Regions from separate parts of the Homo sapiens genome. Here region 1 is linked to region 2. Evidence: promoter capture Hi-C in 16 types of primary human blood cells and fetal thymus (Javierre and others, 2016). All regions are on one chromosome and are shown on one strand. The core of a region is centred on a gene start or on the middle of the fragment in contact, and the rest is flanking DNA. Distances in the headings are between cores, read along the strand shown.

Region 1 (5,883 bases), core at 1,337-3,836, 1.2 Mb before region 2:
TCTTTCAGACCAATGGAAATGTGAAGAAGACATACATGTGGTCTAAAAACCTGGAGTTAGAAAAAGAGATCTGGACTGGAGATGTACGTTTAGGAAGTATCGTTCTACAGAAGATGTATAAAACCATGAGACAGGATGAAATTACCAGGCATAAGAAATAAAGAGAAGAGTCTAAGGTTTGAGGTTTCTGGGGTTTTGCAAAGTTAAAAGGTTAAGAAAAAGAGGAATGACAAAGGAGGCTGAAAAGGAGAGTTAGTGAGGCTGGAGAAGAATCAAGACACTGTGGTATTCTGAAAGCTAAGTGGGGGAAGTTTATCAAGGAGGAAAGTGTGATTAATTATATAGCATGCCCCTAATATATCAAAGAAGCTGAAGGTTAAGAATTCACTTTGGTGAAGAAGAGGTCATTGGTAACTTTGACAGTCTTAGTGAAGTGATAAGAGGAAAATAAATAAATACTGTAGAGGATTTTTGAAAAATGAATTAGAAATAGTAAGTTTTGGTTCTAACTTTATCTGCTTTTGTGGACTAGTGGAGCAAAAGGCAACAAATAAGTTGAGAAGAAGCCACCAGGAAAACTAGAGTCAAGAGAGATTGCCTTTTTTTTTTCCTATTCTTTTTAGGGATTAGAAGACCTATTTGTATAGTGATGATAAATGTCAACTAGAGTGGGGAGGCGGAGACTGGCATGCTTGTATGGTGATGATAATTATCAACTAGAATGGCAGGGGGTGCAGGGACTGGACTTGACTCTGTAGGGAGAGAGCATGTATGGGAAATTATTGGGCTGCTGTCCTGAAGTAGGAGTGAGGGATAGAAACTACTCCATATGTGGAAGAGATGGCCTTTGTTGGAATACAGTTCGTTTATCTAGACTATCAGTCAGGAAGGCAGAATATATGAGTATACAATTGCCAATAAGTGGGTGGGAGCTGTGGAAGTTTTCTTCACATTGCTTCAGTCTTCTCAGTGAAATAGGAAGCAAAATTATCAGCTAAGAGTGAGATATAGGGAGGAGGTGTTGGAAGACAGGGTTTGAAATGAGGGAATAAAGTATGAAGTAGTCTTCTAGGAGAGTGGGAGAATAGCTGGACCTGGGAAAAATATTTTGACTGCTGGGCACCATTAAGCCCTCATGTGGGGTTATTATCAGGAATTTGAGGAAGACCAGTCTGTATGCTGGCATGTTTTTTCCTTCATTTATGGTTTAATTGCATAGGTATGAGTATGGAGGAAGTGCGATGCCCATGCAAGCACGCACGCACACACACACAGACACACACACACAGACACACGCATACACAGAGACACCAAACAGACACACACACACATACACACCTTACTTTTAAAAGCAAGTTGTTTTACATCTTTCCTATGCAATTTTTGTTTTCCTTTTGGCTCCATCTCTCTCTCTCATTTGCTCTCCCTCTCTCTCTCTCTCGACATTTGCCCCCCATTTTATAGCATTTGCAAAGTTAAAAGGTTAAGAAAAAGAGGAATGACAAAGGAGGCTGAAAAGGAGAGTTAGTGAGGCTGGAGAAGAATCGAGACACACCAACTAAATAACCAAGTATGTAAGAATTGAAAATTATTTTAGAGATCAGTTTCATTCTCCTCATTATAGATGGGGAGACTAAGGACCAGATAAAAAGGATTGGCCCAGATTTTGGCAGTCACATAGGAACAAACTTCTAGAAGTTTCCCTTATAGATATGTGTCTGTGGAACAGGTGTATAGAAAAATTATATGCTAATGTTTAGCAGATGCTCAACATAAATTATCTTATATATTCAGTAACTCAGTTGAAGCAAAATAACATAACCTTGCATAATATCGCTCATATTCTTGTTAGGATAATGTCACTACTGTTGCCTGGGTACTTCTTTACTTTATTTATTTCTTTCTTTTTTTTCTTTTTTTTTTTTTTTTGAGGTGGAGTCTCACTCTGTTGCCCAGGCTGAAGTGCAGTGGTGCAATTTCCACTCACTGCCACCTCTGCCTCCTGGGCTCAAGCGATTCTCCTGCCTCAGCCTCCCAAGTAGTTGGGATTACAGGTGCCCACCACCACTCCCAGCTAATTTTTGTATTTTTAGTAGAGATGGGGTTTCACCATGTTGGCCAGGTTGGTCTTGAACTCCTGACCTCGAGATCCACCTGCCTCGGCCTCCCAAAGTGCTGGGATTACAAGTGTGAGCCACCACGCCCAGCCTCTTTACTTTCTTAATTGCCTCTTCATAATGTATTTAATAAACTATGGCAATCCCAGAATGACAGATTGTTACCACTGTCATTGGATTTCTAATTTCAATTTGGAATTTAAAAACCAAATACCTGAATTGTTGTCCTAATTCTGACATTGCCTATTTATAGCCTTGGTTAGGTAATTGAGCTTTCTGAGTCTGTAGTTTCTTAGCTTATTAAATGAGAAAAAATAGACTAGATATGCAGTTAAAATAATTTTAAAATAGCAGCATAAATGAAACTGAAGTACTTTTATTTAAACAAGGGCTGGTGCATCCAGTTGGCCACTCACTGAACACCTTTGTACTGTTTTAGGTTTCTTTGATGCAGCTACACATAATTCAAGTGCTCCAAGGATTACAATTCCTAAAAGTAGAATGGAAGATCTAGTATTTCTTCCACTTCTGTCATTCTATAAACACATTATGTTATGTAGGGGAGTGGAGGGATTGAGAGATAGGGAAGGAAGAAGAGAGACAGAGAATGAAAAATGAATGTTAAGTTCAGGTAAAAGATTCTTACATACCTACAGTTGCAAAAACCCTTAAATGCCTTCTATGATAAAATGTTTTATTTCTTCCATCCCTATTGTTACAAAAACCTTCAATTACCTTATAGAACAGACTGTTTTATCCCTGCCCCCATTGATGTCATCTCAAAAGACAAGGAGGCTCAAAGTGAGAGTGAGATAGACCTTTACATTATCAACTCATTTCTAAGCCCCATCACATAGATAGGCCTGCATGTTTTAGAAGAGCATTTATGGTAAAAATGATAGAAAGTTATTAATATCCCAAATCGAAAAGTAGGGGAGAGACTGGTGATTCAGCCCTGCTAAGCTACAAGGTACTAGGCAGAGACTGTGAAGGTAACTGCCAAGATTCAGCCAGTCTTCCAGTCATCATGTGCTGTCTGTCTCATATAATTTCTTATACATAAACTGAATTTTATCTGGTTCTTTGGAGAAGTGAGGAGAATAGCTAATTCATAAAAAGTGGTTAGTGTATGAGAGTTTATTTAAGAAAAATGATGGCCAGGTGCGGTGGCTCACGACTGTAATCCCAGCACTTTGGGAGGCCGAGGCAGGTGGATCACGAGGTCAAGAGATTGAGAATATTCTGGCCAACACGGTGAAACCCCGTCTTTACTAAAAATACAAAAAATAGCTGGGCATGGTGACGCACGCCTGTAATGCCAGTTACTCAGGAGGCTGAGGCAGGAGAATCGCTTGAACCTGGGAGGCAGTGGTTGCAGTGAGGTGAGATGGCGCCACTGCACTTCAGCCTGGCAACAGAGTGAGACTCTGTCTCAAAATAATAATGATAATAAAAAGGAAAAATGACAGAAGTCAAAAGAATGCCTCCGATTATTTCAGTGAATAAACTAACGGCCTTAAACAAATATTACTTTCAAACTATTTATATATTTACCATTATAGAAAAAATATAAATAACAAAGTACAAATGCATAAATACTGGGATGTGTTGAAAGTACACAGAGAAAGAAATAACATGCCTTATATCTTATTATTTGAAAATCAGCACTTTTAATATTCTGTAATATATTTTCAGCTTTTGTATGGACATATATATGTGTTTAGAAATTATGATGCTATCACGCAAAAACTATTAGCACCAGTAATATATAAAATTTCCTAGTAACTTAAACCAACAAGCAAAAAACAAATAACCCTATTAATAATGGGCAAAGGAAATGAATAGACATTTTTTAAAAGTAGCCAACAAACATATGAAAAAATCCTCAACATCACTAATCATCAGAGAAATGCAAATCAAAACCACAATGAAATGCCATCTTGCATCAATCAGAATGGTTATAATTAAAAAGTAAAACAATAACAAATGCTAGTGAGGCTTCAGATAAAAGGGAACACTTATACACTGTTGGTGGAAATGTCAATTAGTTCAGCCACTGTGGAAAACAGTTTGGAGATTTCTCGAAGAACTGAAAACAGAACCACCATTTGACCCAGCTATCCCATTACTGGGCATATAGCCAAAGGAAAATAAATCGTTCTGCCAAAAAGATGCATGCAGTTGTATGTTCATCACAGCGCTATTGACAATGGAAATGACATGAGATCAACCTAGGTGTCTTTCAATGGTGGACTGATTTAAAAAAAAAATGTGGTATATATACACCATACAATACTACACAGCCATAAAATGAATGAAATTATGCCCTTCGCAGCAACAAAGATGCAACTGGAGGCCATTATCCTGAGCGAACTAATGCAGGAACAGAAAACCAAGTACTTTGTGTTCTCATTTATGAATGGGAGCTAAGTATCAAGTACATATGGACACAAAGATGGAAACAATAGACACTGGGGACTATTAAGAGGGAGACGGAGGAAGGAACGCATGGACTGAAAAACTGCCTATTGAGTACTATGCTCACTACCTAGCTGATGGGATCATCCATATCCCAAACCTCAGCATCATGCAATATACCCATGTAACAAACCTACAAATGTACCACTTGAATCTAAAATAAAAGTTGAAATTATTATTGTTATTATTTTATTTATTTTTAGATGGAGTCTAGCACTGTCACCCAGGCTGGAGTGCAGTGGCATGATCTCGGCTCACTGCAAACTCTGCCTCCCAGGTTCAAGTGATTCTCCTGCCTCAGCCTCCCAAGTAGCTGAGACTACAGGTGCCTGCCACCATACCTGGCTAATTTTTGTATTTTTAGTAGAGTAGGGGTTTCACCACTTTGGCGGGTCTCGATCTCTTGACCTCGTGATCCACCTGCCTCAGCCTCCCAAAGTGCTAGGATTACAGGCGTGAGCCATCGTGCACGGCCAAAATTATTTTTTTAAGTTTCTTGTGATCAAATCTTAAGTAATATCAAATAATATTCACTTTGGCTTTTATAATATGTTGATTGAATGGTATTATATTCTTGTTTTGATTCATTTTCTTCGATTACTACTAAGGATTAATATTTTTCATATGTACATAATTTAATATTTTCATATTTACAATTTTCATTTGAAATAGAGGAAGCTTTTTATTTAGGCTTTTTTCAGTGACTTCAACTTATTACTCTTTAAATAGTATGTTGAGTACCTATAGCAATGGCAAATGTAGATTGTCCTCTACATAATGCTTTAAAAGCATTAAGGATTTATATGTAATATAACTAGGACCTAGTGAGGAGTACTAATTGCCTTTTTACCCACTAAATTCATGTTATTTATTATTTAAAGGCCATTTTCTCAAATTGCAAACACTTATTTAACTTTTTTTAAAAATTACCTCCCAAAGACACTGTACACAGGTAACCACAGTTACAGTTTAATGTATGTATCCCTTCTTATTCTTTCCCATTTATCTAATATAGATAAATAAATACAATAGGGGAGATTGCAAATAAGTCATAGTACAGCCATTTGATAACTTATTTTTTCACTTAAGGATATATAATAATATTTCACCATATCAGTACATATAGAACCACCTCATTTTTTACTAGCTCCATAAGATTGTAAAATTATGTTATACAAGTTTTCTTAGGATTTGTGTTCAATTTTTCAATGTTACACATAGTATGGCAACAAACATCAGTTAATCCATCTTTCTGGCTTTGTGCATGTATACCGAAAAGAGAGATTCC
Region 2 (5,641 bases), core at 2,360-4,859:
CAGGAATCCCATTCACAGTACTGAGGATCACATCTGACGCTGTCCCCAGACTCCGGTAAAGCGGCTTTCACCAGGAAATAGACACTGTTAGACTGAACAAGTTTCAACCAGCCTCAAGGAGAAGAAGCAGGTATTCTCTCTCTGGGACCTTCTCAAATCTGGACAAAAGGCTAAGTGCTGAGAATGAATCTGAAAATCCCCTGTGGGAATGGTGTCTGAATTCCATGCCACGGTTCTGCTCCTCGGTGTGGCCTTGCATCCTTATTTATTCACTCCAGCATTTTTAAGTGCCTCCTATGTACCGGGCTCTGGGGATCCCAAGTTGAGTAAAATAAAATCACTGCCCTGTCAGTCCCAGGATCTTTAAAGTGAAATGCACCCCCCACCCCTGTCCCCAGGGAAGGTGAAAGCACTACTCCAGGACAAGCCATTGAGCAATGAGAAGAAAATGAAGAACTCTGATTAGTAATTATAGTTTCATCTTTTTAACTTCTACTTTCATGATTGTAATTTTCTGTATAACTACAGAGGTTTTTGGTTCACATGCTCCAGCAATTAAGAATAGGTGAACAAACGCTTAGAGACCACGGAACTAGTCTCCTGATGTGTAACTGTATCTCAGTAAAGCTGCGATGGGAGAGCAGACTGGAAGTACTTGGAAAAAGACCCTAGGTGATCGCAACATGTCCCATATATGATCGACTGGAGTGTGCAAACCTGCAGCACTGGCCTTGCTTCATACATTGCTTTTGAGAATCACTGAATGAGCTAGTTTCCCCATGAGTAAAATGCAAATATGCTGTCCTTGAAAACCCTTTTAGAGAGGGTGGTTATATATATTTTTGAGGGTGAAATGAGTACTAAGGAGAAATAAGGAGTCACCAGAATGTACGATCACTCTACCTACAGGTCACAAATCTAAGAAAATAAAACACATTTGCACACCACCAAAGCTCAGAAAGTGCTAAGATAATGCTAGTTTAGGCACTCTAATTGAGACTGGTACCAATTATTTTTCTGTTTCCTAAGCCATGAACACTAACTTATTCTAAGGCCCAAAGTTGAAGATACAGCATTTCACCACCTTCAGTGAGTTCTACCAGAAGATGCTTTGGAGAGAGGAGTATGCTCTCATAAAAGTGTGATTATTTCTCTGTGGTTTTAGATACTAATGTAAAACAGCCCGTTTCCTTATAGGACAAGTCTACTCACTAAAATGTGAGGAATCTGCTAAACAAGGTCTTTACTACTGGTCAAAATAGTAAAATTGTGCTTTTCTATTCTATGCAGAGCCTTGCAAGAGGTTCAGGTAAAGGGACCTTTCTTTCTGCATTTCTTTCTGCACGAATTCCCTAAACGTTTCTAGAGAACTTGGGGAAAAATTAGTCCCATTTCCTCTCCACAGGTCTTCTTTCTCTTGATTCAATCAATTCCTGCTCAAACTTTCCCACTTAATGTAACTTTATGAACAAAATGCTCTTCACTGCAAAGTTAACTTTTTTTTTTAATGACAAGTTAAACTTCACTATACTGAAAAAAAAAAAAAACCTCAAATACATAACTAAAACTAACCTGAGACAGGAAAAATAACAAATGGGGAGGGGAAGGCTGAAGGTAGAAGAATGAAACAGGTTCCAAGACAACAGGCCTCGATGCTCACTAAAAGTCCATCCTGAGAGGGCAAGCGGAACACCTTTGCCACCACCCACCTGGAAATACAGCAATGCTCCTGCCTGCATAAAGATTTCTTCACAGGGTCCTTTAAAACTGTCTATTTCTAAGAGGTCCCTTCCACTACAGGTAAAAGGAAATTCCCTCTACCCTAGGGCCCCTCAGGATCCCTTCCTCTCTCACACGTTTCTTCGACTGCTCCTGATTTAAGCATTCAGCTGGCCACGCAACGCAAGAAGCAATAAGAACACAAAAACCCTACCCTGTTCCTCCTCTATCCGTGGCCTTTGCCACCACCTCCACAACCTAGTTCAGATTCCTCTTCTTTTCTCAAGGGAACGTCTAAAGCTCTCAAGTCCGTTTTGGCAGGGCGATTTTGTAAGTCTGAAACATTTCAGTGTGTCTCTCGATCTCAGGCAGCTCAAAAGAAAAGATCTGCTGGCTGCGTGAAGGTGCATTAGAAACCTGCTGCTACCTTGCAGCCTGGGCTGAGCATATGCTCCGGAACTTGCTTCTCTTCCAACATCCTGCACCTCAGGTCAGCATTCCTTCTTTAAAAGGCCTTGTTGGGTAAGAGCATGTCCACCAACAGAACCCTGTAATTCTCCCTTGTTTTCTCGGACTCCCCTGCGTGCTGCAGAAGCCTGGGCGTTAGTGGGGTAGTCCCGAGTGGAACTGGGCCGAGGTAGGTGCCGGGACGCACTACCTGGATGGGGCCAAATTGGAAGGAGATTCGCCCTGACTGAGGTACAGGTGTTTCTTCTCCCCACATGCTGGAACCCAGGAGGCTCCAGGTGCTTCCCCACGAGACATGCCTCGGTATGCAGACTGAGGCCAAGTTCTCGGCGCCCTCAGCCCCGCCAGTAGCGGAACTCCTGCCCGCTGAGCGAGGGCCCTCATGAGAAGGGAAGGTCGCGTGGACAGGCTGCCAGGGGCAAGCGTTTTTAGATTACTTCCTCCTTCTTGGCCCCAGATGCACTTGTGAGTTGGGGGTGTGCGCGGTGGGGTGGGAGGGTGCTTGTGCCCAAAAAGTCTGGGAACGAAAGCTACTGCTGGCTCGAACCCGGACTAGCAAAGTGCGGAAAGCCCGTGGCACAGGAGTGGGTGCCAGGCAGCCCGCACGCAGGTGACCGGCGGACCCCCTCCCCAGGCCCGGGCGGCGGCGGGGCGGGGTGGGGTGGGACTGACCCCTGGCTCCGCCCCGCGGCGCCCCCCGCTGGGCCCCGTTTCCTCCCCCCCCCTCGCGTCCCCGCCGCCCGCACTCACAGCGCTTGGGTGAAGGCGCTGAGCCCCTCGGGCACGGCCGTCAGCCCCTTCCCGGAGCAGTCCACCCGACGGTCGCCGTCGCAGCTGCAGGGCGCCGCGCAGAGAGGCGGCGCCGCGCCGCTGGGCCCGGCCGAGCCGAGCAGCCCCAGGGCGAGGAAGCAGAGCAGCCCTAGCGGGCCCGGCATTGCTGCGGCCGCCTCCCGCGCCGGCCTCTCCCGCGGCGCTGCTCGCTCCGCTGCCCTCCGATGTCCCCCGCCGCCCCCGGGCAGCCGGCCTGCGGGCTGGAGCGGGGGTCTCTTCCTCGGCGGTCCGCGCGGGCTCGGCCCCTTCAGCAGTCCGCCGCAGCGGCGCAGGGACGCGGCGCTCCGGAGTTTCGCCCTTCCCGCTGCTCCATGGACGCGCAGAGGCAGCCCCGCTCCTCCGGCGGCTCACGCCAGCCGGGCCGGCCCGGCGCAGCGGCGGGGGCCGCGCTCTGCCATCGCACCGGTCTCCCTGTCCCTGGCCTCTCAATGCAGCGGCTCTTCAAGGTTGCAGAGCGCAGCCTTCAGCCATGCCGGCCACTCGCCCCAGCCCCCGCCGTGGCTCTCGCACAAACACCCAGACTCTGGCTCGCTGTCTCCCAGCCGCGGCTCAATCTCTTCCCGTCCTTTTCCCTTCTAGGGTTGCACGCTCTGGTTCCCAAACCCCCGGCCGCTGGCTTATGCAAATCACTTAGGTACATGCAAAAGTATCCCTTCTCCCGGAGCGCCATTGGCCCGGGGAGGTCTCGAGCTCATTACTATGCAGAGAGGAGAGCCGCCATTGGCCAAGAGGAGGACCAGAGGGGCGTGTTTCTCGGGCGTGAGTGACAAGGTGGTGGTGGTTGTGGTGGTGGCGGCGGTGGTGGTGGTGGTGGTGGCGGCGGTGGTGGTGGTGGTGGTGGTGGTGGTTCAAGGCAAAATCTTGACTTGGCTGGATTTGTCTGGCAGGTTGTGGATTGAAGGTAGAAGGATAGTAGGACAAGGGGTCTAGTTTTTCCCTCCCCCACCCGTCTTTTTGTTCCCTCCGCAGAAATTGGATCTCCTAAATTGGATGACCTGGTAAGTAGAACTTCCCTCCAGCGTTCAGTTAAGTTTTAAATGACTCTCCGCTGTTCCAAAGGGCGAGGACGTCTGGAGCTCTGCAAACGGAAAAAAGATTTTGAAGAGGAGGAAAAAAGTTTCCCTCGATCTGACACACATCTTTGGGTTTTAGCTATACACTAAGTTAAAAGTGTACCCTCTCCAGTGCCTCACTTCACCTGGGATCTTTACACCTATCTTGATACACATTTGGTAGCTAAGTCTTAGCAATTCATTCTCCCCAGTCCTCTCTCTGTATTTGGTGTTTTTGGTGACTGCAAATTAGACTCCTTTCTCACGCACTTTAAAATCCTGAAACACAGGAATTTTGTAAAAGGTCAGAGAAAGTGATGTTTCTGAACACTGGACAATTTCCAAAACATCTGAGTGGGAGGTGACTACGGCTGAGAAGCCAGCAGCAACGTTGGTGTTAGGTAATTATCAGCATTCCCTCCTCTTCTGGATTTTGAGTCCCTGTGGCCTAATAGACCCCACGGAATCATTACCTGTACCAACTACGGCTTTAAGGGTACTTCGTTTCTTGCTCTCTGCCATGGCGTTGAGTCGTTTTACTCTATAATGGAGACATTTTTAATGAATACATTAAAACAAGCAGGATTCGGCCGGGCGCGGTGGCTCACGCCTGTAATCCCAACACTTTGGGAGGCTGCGGCGGGCGGATCACCTGAGGTTGGGAGTTCTAGACCACCCTGACCAACATGAAGAAACCCCGTCTCTACTAAAAATACAAAATTAGCCGGGTGTGGTGGCAGATGCCTGTAATCCCAGCTACTCGGGAGGCTGAGGCAGGCGAATTGCTTGAGCCCGGGAGGCGGAGGTTGCGGTGAGCTGGAGATCGCGCCATTGCATTCCAGCCTGGGCAACAAGAGCAAAACTCTGTCTCAAAAAAAAAAAAAAAAAAAAAAAAAAAAAGCAGGATTTAAAGATAATTATCATATAAAGTTGACTAGCCATCGTATGTAAATAAAACTTAGGACAATGGAAACAGGTTGATGCAGACCTATAAGTTTAAAATGAAAAAATTTTATCATCTTTGTATTTGGGAGTTTATCTAAAAGATAATGTCAGGTTGGGCACATAAGTCACATACAGTAAATCTGTCTAGAAGCTAGAGAGTTAATAAATAAACATATGCCTTCATTTCAAGTTTTAGGAATGACATATCTCCTCTCACTGCAGGGCTGAAAGACAACTTAAAGACCCCCAGAAAACTCTGGTTTTATAGATAAGAAATCTGAGGCTCGAGAGAGAGTGTGTTCTGCCCAACATCATCACGGAACAGCTCCTGGGCTCCTGGCTCCTAATCTGGTACTCTTAGAGCCTTCCCTAAATAGGCTTTCATCGTCTAAATCATTTCCATTATTTTCTAGCAACTGTCATGAACAAATAAGGAAGAAATTGTAAAGTTAGTTTCTGTAATCGTTTCTTTAAGATCTCTTCTTTTTTTTTTTTTTTTTTGAAACGGACTCTCACTCACTGTGTCCAGTGGCGTGATCTTGGCTCACTGCAACCTCCACCTCCCGGGTTCAAGTGATTCTCCTGCCTCAGCCTCCCCAGTAGCTGGTATTACAGGTGCCCACCAC

What was found. The method cuts DNA at HindIII sites, captures the fragments that hold promoters and counts their contacts. A CHiCAGO score of 5 or more calls a contact.
Region 1: a contact is called between a fragment that was not itself captured here and the fragment with the promoter of LGR4 in region 2, in 1 of 17 cell types (naive B cells). The highest score is 5.3, in naive B cells.

The regions. Positions count from the first base shown.
Region 1 is chr11:26,298,943-26,304,825 of GRCh38, forward strand. It overlaps a transcript of ANO3 not described here. Among named protein-coding and RNA genes, the nearest start is that of ANO3-AS1, 14 kb to the left of the region's middle. The HindIII fragment of the contact is 5,370 bases long and covers 1-5,271 here.
Region 2 is chr11:27,469,181-27,474,821 of GRCh38, forward strand. It overlaps LGR4 (leucine rich repeat containing G protein-coupled receptor 4), which reads right to left and starts at 3,610. Exons shown (of 18, transcript NM_018490.5): 1 at 2,938-3,610. The coding sequence starts at 3,122. LGR4-AS1 (LGR4 antisense RNA 1) reads left to right here and starts at 2,551. Exons shown (of 4, transcript NR_131170.1): 1 at 2,551-2,652; 2 at 3,598-3,777; 3 at 3,988-4,016. RefSeq lists silencers at 2,724-2,783, 3,034-3,203, 3,334-3,383. The HindIII fragment of the contact is 11,499 bases long and covers 1-5,641 here.